Linked DNA regions of Homo sapiens: all the other regions are linked to region 4. Evidence: promoter capture Hi-C in human tissues and cell types (Jung and others, 2019). All regions are on one chromosome and are shown on one strand. Each heading gives the region's core, a stretch centred on a gene start or on the middle of the fragment in contact. The rest is flanking DNA. Distances are from core to core; before and after follow the strand shown. Region 1 overlaps DHX35 (DEAH-box helicase 35). Region 2 overlaps DHX35 (DEAH-box helicase 35). Region 3 overlaps PPP1R16B (protein phosphatase 1 regulatory subunit 16B). Region 4 holds the start of FAM83D (family with sequence similarity 83 member D).

Evidence for each region. The method cuts DNA at HindIII sites, captures the fragments that hold promoters and counts their contacts. A contact is called where the count stands out against the background at its distance.
Region 1: a fragment that was not itself captured here is called in contact with the fragment with the promoter of FAM83D in region 4 in 2 of the 25 tissues and cell types used here (bladder and spleen).
Region 2: a contact is called between a fragment that was not itself captured here and the fragment with the promoter of FAM83D in region 4, in 6 of the 25 tissues and cell types used here (adrenal gland, hippocampus, liver and 3 more).
Region 3: a contact is called between a fragment that was not itself captured here and the fragment with the promoter of FAM83D in region 4, in 1 of the 25 tissues and cell types used here (stomach).

The regions. Positions count from the first base shown.
Region 1 is chr20:38,984,969-38,987,972 of GRCh38, reverse strand. The region is part of intron 4 of DHX35 (DEAH-box helicase 35); the gene reads right to left. Among named protein-coding and RNA genes, the nearest start is that of DHX35, 24 kb to the right of the region's middle. The HindIII fragment of the contact is 4,319 bases long and covers 1-3,004 here.
Region 2 is chr20:38,965,881-38,968,727 of GRCh38, reverse strand. The region is part of intron 1 of DHX35 (DEAH-box helicase 35); the gene reads right to left. Among named protein-coding and RNA genes, the nearest start is that of DHX35, 5.0 kb to the right of the region's middle. The HindIII fragment of the contact is 5,080 bases long and covers 1-2,847 here.
Region 3 is chr20:38,885,760-38,888,794 of GRCh38, reverse strand. All of the region lies in intron 2 of PPP1R16B (protein phosphatase 1 regulatory subunit 16B), which reads right to left. Among named protein-coding and RNA genes, the nearest start is that of FAM83D, 39 kb to the left of the region's middle. RefSeq lists an enhancer at 1,697-2,197. The HindIII fragment of the contact is 4,902 bases long and covers 1-3,035 here.
Region 4 is chr20:38,924,932-38,927,887 of GRCh38, reverse strand. It overlaps FAM83D (family with sequence similarity 83 member D), which reads right to left and starts at 1,471. Exons shown (of 4, transcript NM_030919.3): 1 at 963-1,471. The coding sequence starts at 1,445. RefSeq lists an enhancer at 1,284-1,383 and a silencer at 1,494-1,853. The HindIII fragment of the contact is 31,187 bases long and covers 1-2,956 here.

The sequences.
Region 1 (3,004 bases), core at 93-2,592, 60 kb before region 4:
GGGCCAGTTTCATTTTCTCATCGAAGGCAAAAAGCTAAGTTTCAAGAATGAGATACCTGAAACAGTTCACAACTGTGTCCCAGCTGCCAAAGCCACTGAGAGGGGAAATACAGACAAACTCAGGTTTAAAACAAAGGGGGCAGATGAGTGGATGAGAAGATCAATAAAAAATCCAAGGTAGCATAATAAAGTGAAAGACAAAATATGTAATACATTATGAAGACCATAAACTATAGACAAAATTTCATCCATCAAAACATAACAAATAAAAAATGAATGCAGGAAAGAGAAAAATGAATCCAACAGCAAGATCTCTGCATTCCCCCAAGAAGGCTATTCAAAAGTTAACTTATTAATAGAAAATATTTAAAAGAATGAACAAGCATAAAAGTGGAAGAGCAATAATGAATATCATTTAGTTTAATTTAAAAGAAAATAGGACCGGACGCGGTGGTTCACACCTACAATCCCAGCACTTTGGGAGGCAAATCACCTGAGGTCAGGAGTTCAAGACCAGCCTGGCCGACATGGTGAAACCCCATCTCTACTAAAAATACAAAAAGTTAGTTGGGCATGGTGGCATGCGCCTGTAATCCCAGCTACTCGCAGGAGGCTGAGGCAGGAGAATCACTTGAACCCGGGGAGGTGGAGGTTGCAATGAGCCGAGGTCACACCACTACACTCCAGCCTCGGTGACAAAGAGACTGTGTCAAAAAACAAAAAAAGAAAGAAAAGAAAGTTTAGTATTCACCACCACATAAACTACCTAAATGAAAAGAACCAAAGGGAAGCAATATTAATAGAGATTTCCCAGGGCCCAGCACACCAATCCCCACAGAAGGAAGGAGTTCAGTCTCCCTCTTTCACAGGTGAGACAACCTCCCCAGCACCCACGCAGTTCCCAAGTCCTGACTTTAGAACATGGCTGGCACATGTGGTGTCCTGAGACAGAGCTTACTGCTCCAGCCTTTCCACCCCAGCAGCCCCAGGCTCAGGAGGGCAGAGGCTCCCTGCCCTCAGCTTCTGAGCTAGGCACACCCAGGCGTTTCCTGCCCATCAGTGTTTAAGACACTGAAGAGCAGATGAGGATCAGAAGCAGCTCTGCCTGGTGACTTGAAATTATAGAATGGGGAGGCCAAAACCAAATCAATCATCTGGCAGCTGGTCTATATCATGTAGGCTTTCAAAACGTCTTATGAAACCAGAAAGTTATCCTACATTGCTCTGCCTCTGGTGGTTGTATTTCCCAATGACCAGCATTTCACCAGGACAGATTTGTTATTGTTACTGTTCCAATTTCAACCCTACATGTCGTTATATTATAAATCTCAGAATATGGTACAGGTAGAGAATGTGTGCATAGAGATACTAGGAACTTATGGAGAAAATAGGCTTATAAGAATGAGCATACATAAATATATATACACCTACGATGTACCCACAAAAATTTTAAATTTAAAAAAATGAGCATAAATTAACAAATCTCTGTAAAAATATAATCATTTTATGGGTCTATAAGGTAAAAGCCAAACCTGTTTATTCTTACTCCTTCACTATTTGAATACATTTGCTATAAAAAGTATGTATTTTTATTTTCAAACTCTATTTTTAAATTTTTATTATTTATAATCACACAAGGTTATATTCTCTTGGCTTTTTAATAGATTTTTATCTCTATCACTTTAGTTCTGCTCCCAATAACCTCATCAACTAGACTGGACAAATACTATCTTTTTGACAGACCAAAAGGAAAGGGAGGTAAAAGACCAAAAAAAAAAAAAAAATCACTGAGCACCTACTACTGGCAAGTGCTGTGCTCTAAGCTTTCACAAATTTGTATCTCATTAAATAGACACACAGCCCATGAGGTAGACGAGACACTGTTGTATTTACAAATGAGGAAACTGAAATAAGACAGGTGTTAGAGCTTATTCTGAATCACAGGTCAGGGAGGACCTACCTGGTCTTGAAGTCAAACCCAGACCACATGAGTTCAACAAGCATACTCACTACTAATTGCCTCTCACAGAGATCAAGCAACAGCTTATGCAATCTGTTTTTAGGCTCTGAGATTGTTTGCAGATTTTAGTCTGCACATAAAGTACTTTCTGAGATGTAGCATTTCAAACTTGACAGCTCTATTAATATATTACATGCTCTTTGCTCTTTCAAGAGAAAGCTGTGGTTTCATGGAAGTTATCCATGGCTACAAATTTGGAACTAAGATGCAAACTGATTAAGAGCTGGGATTCCAAACCACAAACAGGAAAAATTGTTCTAATTTTAGGTAACTGAGTCATCTTTTAGTGACAAAAAAGATTAACTCCAGCAGCATTTGCAACTTGGTTTCCAAACTGTTAGCCCCATTTTCATACAAAAACACAACACACACACACACATAACTTCTAAAACTGTATAACTTCTTAATTGAACACCATTAGAAAATGAACTTTGGGCAAAACAACGACACAATAATTAAAACTCAGTACAGAACAAAAATAACTTGGGGAAATAGAATTAATTGTTTGTCCAGGTAAAGGCCACAAACTAAAGGCCCTACTTCCTTTTCTTTAAGCCTTTTTTTTTTTTTTTTTTTTTGGAGATAGGGTAAAGGTTGGAGTACAATGACACGATCATAACTCACCGCAACCTTAACTCCTGGGCTCAAGAGATCCTTCTGGCTCAGCCTCCGAAGTAGCTGGGACCACAGGCAGGTGCCAGCATGCCCAGCTAATTTTTTTAAAAATTGTTTTGTAGAGACAGGGTCTTGCTATGTTGCCCAGGCTGTTCTCAAACTCCTAGGCTCAAGCAATCCTCTTGCCTCGGCCTCCCAATGTGCTGGGAATACAGGCATTAGCCACCACACCCAATCTCTCAGAGCTAATTTAAAAACAACAAAAGAATTCAAACATACTATCAACAAAAAACTTATGGTGGCTCAGACTTCTACACAGTGATCCTCAACGCCAAAAGGCAGTGAGCAAAGTCTGCAGTTTGCAGGGAC
Region 2 (2,847 bases), core at 292-2,791, 41 kb before region 4:
TACAAAAAATTAGCCAGGCGTGCATGGCGGTGTGTGTCTGTAGTCCCAGCTACTCGGGAGGCTGAGGCAGGAGAATTGCTTGAATCCAGGAGGCAGGGGTTGCAGTGAGCCAAGATCGGGCCCCTGCACTCCAGCCTGGGCGACAGAGCAAGACTCTGTCTCCAAAAAAAAAGAAAAAAGAAACGAGATGGCAGTCCCACTGGGCTCCAAATTGGCCACTCAGAACTGTGTATTACAGAGCACAGTGTCTTTACTTCTGGCCTCCATGTCCATGTTATTACTGAATTCTTAACAGAAGTGAAAGAAACCCAGTGGGAATTAGCTGAGGTAAAAGGATGAATCTTGTTACTGTAGGATGGCAATAAGGCTCAGAGATGACAGAAACTGGGCACTCAAAGCAGCCATGGCTTTCTCCTTCTCTCATCTTGGCACGTCTTGCAGGTTCCTTCCAGCCCCTTAGGTTGGCTACTGTACAGGAGCTGGAAAGACGGCTGCCGGCAGTGCCAGGGTTCACGCTTACAACTCCTCTACCAATCATTCATCGTGGTCCAGCAAGGACCAGCAAGGATGGACCAAGGGCCCACTCCATGTCACGTACCACTCTAAGCACTAGAAACACTGCAGTGAACAATACAGATGCCAGCCCTACCCTCACGGAGCTCACTTGCTTTTTTAATTCTTCCTCTCAGTGGAAAGTAACTTGGTGCATGAAGTGGTCATAAGTGCTATGGAGAGAAATAAAGACAACGTAAGGGGGACTGGGAGTCCCAGGTATGTGTTGTAATGGGGGGTGGGGGAGGCTCTTTTATACTGGACAGACAGGGACTGACTTCTCCCAGCTTAGGTCCAATCCCCACCCCAATACAATCAACCATGGCCAGTGGAATGGGATGAGGTAAATGACAGTCCCCATTGGAACCATGGAATCGGGAGTGGATAGATGGGAAATGCTATTCTCAGTAACCGCCATGCTGGGCAGATTAAACAAGAGATCTTCACCCCGGCTTCTTGCTAATAACAATGACAAACTGGTGATCATGATGGTGAAGAATAGGGAAGCCATATCCCATCATGAAAACCTGTTGAAGGTTCCATACAGTTTTAGCTCAAACAGAAAAACAACTCAGGAGAAACATAACTTTAAATTTTGTGAGCAGCTTCCATAACTTTTCATGCTGATTTGCTGCTGTAACTCTAGGACAGAACTAGGAGTAATAAGTAAATGACACAGGGTTCAGAATTCAACTCAATGTAAGGAAGATATTTCCAAAAGGTCACACTTTTCAGCACTGGAGTTTGCTGCCTTGTAAATGAATAAAAATCCTCCCTAGATCAAACACATGCTATACAGCCTCCTGCTGGGGCACTACAGTGATAATAACCAATAACCATCATCTCCTAGGTCTTCTGAACTCAGAATCTGTGATGCTAAGTGAAAGCACAGGAGCTTTGTAACAAGAATATTCAGCTCAGTGACTTACTTTTACACTTTTTAGGGTTCTCAGATTGCTTCAACAATCTGATAAAGGCTATGAACTCCCTCTCCTAAAAAACACACCAGAATTTACCAGAATATAAAATTCGGGGGGGTCCGTAGACCCCCTAGAGCTAAGTTTAGAATCACTGCTTTAGATCTCTGACCCTTTTCCATTTACTTCCAGGAACAGAGTTGTGTTTCAGAGGTTCAAGATGGCCAAAAATCAGGTAAGTGGGGCACTGTCATGTTGCTTTTGCCAAAATGTTGACCTTCCTTTCAACAAGACAAAAGATGGAACAGGACCTGGAACAATGCCTGTCCTCAAAGAGACAGGCTTTCTTTCCTTCCCTTCTTGTCACTACATCTTAATAATTCCTTGTAATTGTTACTCAAGAAAACAATGACAAAGAATACCTTATCCTTTTCTGCTGTGTTTTTGTCCTGAATTCCTGCCTTTTCAAATCATGTTTTAAACCTTCATATCCTCTCTGGAATATTTTAACATGTCTTTTGTACTACCGTATTCCTCCCTTGTCTCTAACCTACAGCCCCAATCTATCTCTTCTATTATCAGCTTTTGTTTTTGGAGATGGAGTCTCTGTTGCTCAGGCTGGAGTGCAGTGGCGAGATGCCAGCTCACTGCAACCTCCGCCTTCCAGGTTCAAGCGACTCTCCTGCCTGGGCATCCCGAGTAGCTGGGATTACAGGCACGCACCACCGCACCCAGCTCATTTTGTATTTTTAGTAGAGACAGGGTCACACCATGTTAGCCAGGCTGGTGTCGAACTTCTGACCTCTGGTGATCCACCCACCTCGACCTCCCGAAGTGCTAGGATTATAGGCATGAGCCACCACGCCCAGCTGAGCTCTTTTATAAGAACAGCTATGTCAGTTGATAAACAGTATACCTTCTCCTCATAAAAGACTTCCTTCAACCAAACCAGAACATCAGGGCTGCTTTCCCTCTATAAACACCCCTCTGTGGCTGCCTATGATTGATTTTTCCTTGAGCGTACGCTCTATGCTTAAGGGAGTAACAACTTTATAACTTTTGCAAACTATGAACATCTTCATTTCCCTATCTTAACAAGGCTGATATCCCTAATTCCTCATTCCCTTTAACTTGGTTTTTAAAAATTTTACTGGTGACCCATTAGTGGGTTATGAAATCAATGTAGTATGTCATACCAGCACTTTTTAAATAATGAAATAGAATAGAAAGCATCAGAGCACATTCCAGAAAGCAATACTGTTTATGAACAACTTTTTCTTCAGTTGTGTATGTGTGCTATATCTTACTGTGGGTCAAGTCAAAAAAAGCTTAAAACCTATTGTAAAGTTTTCGTCATGCACATGGTCAACAATCATGA
Region 3 (3,035 bases), core at 199-2,698, 39 kb after region 4:
CCCTTATCACTGTGACCCTCCTCCCTCCTCCTCTGCCCACCACCATTCAAGCCCCAATTCTCCCCTGAACCCACGTGCAAAGGGAGAGAAGAGAGGAGCTCACCCACCAGCCCTGCAGGCCCCTTCCCAGGCTTGGCAACTGGGACCCCAGCTCTGGCTTTGGCAGGGTGATCTCAGGCCCTCCAGCTTTGCCTCTCCCCGTGGATGAGGAGTCCAGGGGGCCAGTGGGACGAGTCCACCCAAGCCCCTGGCTCCCCTTCCAGGCCACACCTCTACTGTCCCTGTCCAAATGACTCCGAGCCTGCTTGCAGGGCCTCAATAGGATCTTCCCTGGATCCAGCTTCCCAAAGGTAGACTGTGCAGTTACTGGGCAAGCGGACCTCTAGGCCAGAGTGGTGAACAGAGGGTGGCTGTTTGTGGGGCAAGTGGACGAACTTGAATACACAAGCTGGCTTGTGTGGGTGGCCCTCGTGCCATCGTGCTGATGAAGCCAGGCGTGCAGGCCCAGGCACTGCAGACAGGATACATAGGCTGGCCCTGAGCCCTCTGAGCCTCCTCCCACCCCCAGCCAAGTCTAGCTCCCTGTGAAACAGAAGCCAAAGTCCACATCCCCTAATCCCCACCGTGGACACTATCTCCACGCTACGGTTCATGCCATAGGGCAGGGCTGAGGTGGTTTCCTCGTTGATTTCTGCTGTGGGGAAACAAATTAGAAGTGAGCTGGGCAGGGTGAAGAGAAGACTATCCCTTCTGCAGGACAAAAAAACCCAGTCAGCAACTCCAGGGGGTGCCAGGGGAAAAAGAAGCTGGTAGGCAAGGGAGGAGTCCTCAAGGGCTCAGGAGCAGTGGATGGGGTGGGGGTACAGCCCCTCAGCTCCATCCTCATGAGGCCCAGCTCCCAAACCACAGTCCCAGTTGCACCCTAGGCCTCAGTGTGAACCGAGGCCCTGCGTGAAGGGGAGGTTGAGGTCACCACCCAGTAAGAGGTGGCATCTCCAGTAGACCTGCCCAGTATGCATAGCCAGTATGGGTTAAGCATGACAGGACTTTGTCCAGTACGGTCAGATCCTTTGGCGCTGTCCTGACCAACATGGTGCCACTAGCTACATCTGGCTATTACGGCTGCTTAAACGAATTAACATTCAAAATTTAGTTTCTCAGGCATGCTGTGCTCAGTTTCAAGTGGTTGGTGGCTACCATATTGGAAAGTGTAGAAATAGACCATTTTCATCTTCTTGGAAAGTTCTATTGGACGGTGCTGCTTTGGGGCATTATAAATGAAAATTAGCTCTGTCACAAATTGTTAAAATCCTTCCATGGCTCCCCATTGCTCTGGGAATAAAGTCCACAACTCTTCCTATGGCATACAAGTTCTTGCGTGATGTGAGCCCTGTCTGCAGGTCTCTAGCTTGCACAATTCTAGGTGGCACCATCCACATCATGGTTTATAAGACTGGCATCTTCTGGAGCTGTCCAGTACACAACTTGCTCAGCTGTGCACAATCATCCTACCTGCTAACCTCACCACTCTCATTTCTTAAACTCCAAACACTTTCCACAATAGTCTTTTGTCAGTTACAGAGTCACATCACTTCTTGTGGCCTCTGAGATTTTGCATAGTCTGTTCCCATTGCCTGGGAGACTCAATCATTCATCCATCCATCCACCAGCATCCATTCATCCATCCAACCACCATCATCCATGCATCTGCCTCTAACACTAACACACACACACACACACACCTTTGCCCCACTCCTCGTCCTTTAGGTCTCAGCTTAAACTCCCCAGGCTCCTGTTATATATACCCATAGCTCCTATACATCTCATTTACAGCCTTGTCACAACTACAATTATATAACTAATTATGGGCTTTGAGTGTATCTGCCCATTGGACACTAAGCCCCACAAGGGCAGAACCATGACCTGGTACTTATGGCTCTATCCCTAAAGCCTGGTACACAGTGAGTCCTCAAGAACTCCTCTAGGACCTTGACCCAATTGGCAGCCCTCTAGTTCAGTCCAAGGACAAAGCCTCTCCATCACTGAGCAAAGCAGATCACCCTCAAGGGCTGACTCCAGAAGACTCATGTCTGTAGCAGGCAGTCCTCTGCTCGCAGGCATCTCCTACAGACCCAGTGCCTGGTGTTAGCCTCAGGACCATGTAGGAGATTATGGCAAAGCCACTGATCACCAAGGCCCAACCTGCCCACGGGTGAGTGGGGGTGCCCTGAGCATTACAGATGGCTTTTGGGAGAGGAGCAGTGGCCACTATATCCCTGACTAGGATGGGTTTCTGGATGGTTCTGCTCACATTAGCTAGGGGTTCAAATCCCATGGGGTGGGTAGCAGAATAAGCTTCCTGTCCAGGAGATACTCCTGGAGGCAGAAAATAAGCATCAGCTGCCAAAAGCAGTGTTTGTGCACAGTAATTATTGGGGTGTTCTCCATGCGGTGGAGGAATCCAAGTCATGTAATTACCCTGATGTTGGGCAGTTATTTTCAGCCCAAGAGGTGGGACAAATGATTCCCATCTCTAGGAAGCCCTTAGTACTCATGAGCCAAGGCTGCCTCAGCAGTGCTACTTCCAATGTACCTAGGAGCCCAAGGCCTGGCTCTGCACCTACTCACAGGAGCAAAGTCCTCGGCGCCCAGTGCACAACCGGGCTCCCTGCCTCTAGAGTTCAGTAAGAAAATTATTATTATATTAATAATGTTTTCTGGCCAGGCACGGTGGCTCATGCCTGTAATTCCAGCACTTTGGGATGCCAAGGCATGTGGATCACTTGGGGTCAGGAGTTCAAGACCAGCCTGGCCAACATGGCGAAACCCTGTCTCTACTAAAAATACAAAAATCAGCTGGGCGTGGTGGCGCACGCCTGTAATCCTAGCTACTCAGGAGGCTGAGGCAGGAGAATCACTTGAATTTAGGAGGCAGAGGTTGCAGTGAGCCGAGACTGCACCATTGCACTCCAGCCTGGGCGACGGAGCAAGACTCTGTCTCAAAAAATATATATAAATAAATAAAAATAATGTTT
Region 4 (2,956 bases), core at 222-2,721:
CTGCAATCTGGCACAGACCCAGCCTATGGAAAACAAACCCCTTGCCCCAGTTTCCCCTCCAGTCTCTGGCAGTAGAAAAAGCGGCAGGGGGCCGGGTGCGGTGGCTCACGCCTGTAATCCTAGCACTTTGGGAGGCCGAGGCGGGTGGATCACCTGAGGTCAGGAGTTCGAGACCAGCTTGGCCAACATGGAGAAACCCCGTCTCTACTAAAAATACAAAAATTAGCCGGGCGTGGTGGCGGGCACCGGTAATCCCAGCTACTTGGGAGGCTGAGGCAGGAGAGTCACTTGAACCCGGGGGACGGAGGTTGCAGTGAACTGAGATCCCACCACTTCACTCCAGCCTGGGCAAAAGAGAATCTGTCTCAAAAAAAAAAAAAAAAAAAAAAGACAAGAAAGAAAAAGCGGCAGGGCTCTCACTTTGCCACTCTCGTGTTTATCTGCTTTTTACAGCAAAAGATGCATGAAAGTAATTAGCAATAATAATTGCTTCCTAATGCCCCGTAGTTGTCTCTGGAGACCATCTTTCTGGAACTTTCCCTGCGTAAGTTCTTTGGTAATGAGTCTCCTAAGAAGCTCCTGAAAGTGGGATCTAGCGTTGGCTGACAGACAGGGAAATAGGCAATTTTCCAAGTTTGATTTTAACTGAAATTTGGAACTCAGAGTACTTCTGGTCCCTCCTTCAGGGATATGAACGTTAGGAGATGGAACCCGGGCACAATTCGCATCCTTGGGAACCGAGGCTTTCCCACTATCCCCTGCCACGAGGAGCGGCCCGGGGGATCCGGGGGAGACACGCAGAGTGGGGTGTGAGTCGGAGACCCTGGGACCACCTAGCCCGCGCGCGCTTCCGGTAGGGCGCAGAGGAGGTAGTGGCCCCGGCCCGTACTCCCAGCAGGCCTCAATTTCCCATTCTTGAAGGGGGTCTCCCGTGCGACCCAGGGCCCTGGAGGGCCGCTCACCTCTCGCGCCGAGCGGAGCTGCTGGCGCAGAGCGTCCTTGCAGCCGTAGGGGCCACCTTCGCCAGCGCCGCGGGGCTGGAAGTGCGTCTCGACACGCGTGGCGCCGCGGTAGGCGCCCTGGTAGAAGGCGGGCCAGCCAAGCTCCAACAGCGGTGGCTCCAGGTCCGACTGCTCGGGGAAGTAGGTGCCCGAAGAGCAGTCGTGCGAGGAGCCGAACGAGTCCTCGGCCGCCGCCGCCGCCGCCGCGCCCTCCTCTCCCGGCCTCTCCGCCGCGCGCAGAATGGCGTGCACCTCATCGGGGTTCAGGAAACGAGCCAGGCGCTCGCGTCGCAGGAAGGCCGCGAAGGCTTCGGGGCCGCCCGCCACCAGCTCCTCCAGAGCCAGGCGCCGTGACTCGCTGAACAGCTCGGTCGGGTTGGGCGGCCCGCACGGCGACAGGCAGGCGGCGGGCACCTCGTCCAGGCCCTCGGACAGCAGAGCCATGGCGGCGCTCGGACTCGACAGCCCTCGGACAAAAACCGGCGTGCAGTCCCGCTTTATAGGCAACCTTTGAATCAAACAGGCCCGCGCCATTGGCCGCACCTCCCCGCCTCGGCTCTCCCATTGGCTGCTTTCCTTCCAATAGCGGAGCGAGGCGGGGCGCAAGCCTCTACGGCTCCGCCCCCTGATGCGTTATTGGCTGCGATGCTGGGCTTGCTAAGAGGAATTTAAACTTGCAGGGGCGAGGCGGGCCGCAGAGCAGGGACAGAGCGGGGAGAGCCGAGCTCCTGGCCATCCCAGCGCGCCCCCTGCCGGTCGCCCCGCTGCGCGGCCGTGCAAGGCCAGGGACAGTCAGGCCTAGACAACGAGGAGAGGCAGGTGCCGACTCCCGGAGACTCTGGCCACGCTGCTCCTAGGCTCTCAGTGCTTTGGCATGGCCAACCATATCGCCTTTATCACCTGCCTTTAACCATGTATTCATTCATTCAAAGAATACCGGCTCATCGTATTAGGACTGCTCCTTTGATTACACCCTCGGGTAGTCTTCTCTCATTTCATCGATTTTTGCCTTGTAAAACCCCAACCAACCGTGGTTATACCCTACTTTCCACCTGCACCCCGGCAGCCCTACAGGGCTGAAGAAAAAACAAAAAGAGCGTAACCATGCTTACTGACTGGTCATGTTTTAAATTCATAATCCGTAAGACTGCCTGCTAGGAGGCCGGGCGCGGTGGCTCACGCCTGTAATCCCAGCACTTTAGGAGGCCGAGGAGGGCGGATCACCTAAGGTCAGGCGTTTGAGACTAGCCTGACCAACACGGTGAAACCCCGTCTCTACTAAAAATACAAAAATTAGCCAGGTGTCTTGGTGTACGCCTGTAATCCCAGATACTCGGGAGGCTGAGGCAGGAGAATCACTTGAACGCGGGAGGCGGATGTTGCAGTGAGTCGAGATAGCACCACTGCACTCCAGCCTGGGCGACAAGATCGAAACTCCATCTAAAAACAAAACAAAACAAAACAAAAGCAAACAAACAAAAAAACTGCCTGGTAGGCCGCATTTCCCTCATTCTCTCTACCTTTTCCTCTCTGACAGCTTGTCTTCCATGTCAGCAAGAACACAGAAACAGTAAGAAGGGAACGTCCACGTGCGGCCATCTAGTCTACCTTCCTGTCTGCATCTCTGCCCGTATACTGGGCATTGATGAACTGTGCCTGTGCCCATCCAACCCCAACCCCTCTGCCTGGGCATTTCCAGCCCCTCTACTACTCACCAGCATCGCTCCAGCAATCTTCTTCTTTCTCCTGGAACATCAGCTTCCCTCTTTACCGATTCATTTCTATCAGCCTACAAGCATGCTGAAATATTTTTCATCTTAAAACAACCCTCTCTTGACCCTACATTCCTCTAAAGCTCCCCATCTCACTTCTTATTTTTGCAGCATAGAATCTCAGATGTGGCTGGCCATGGTGACTTACACCTGTAATCCCAGCACTGTGGGAGGCCAAGGGAA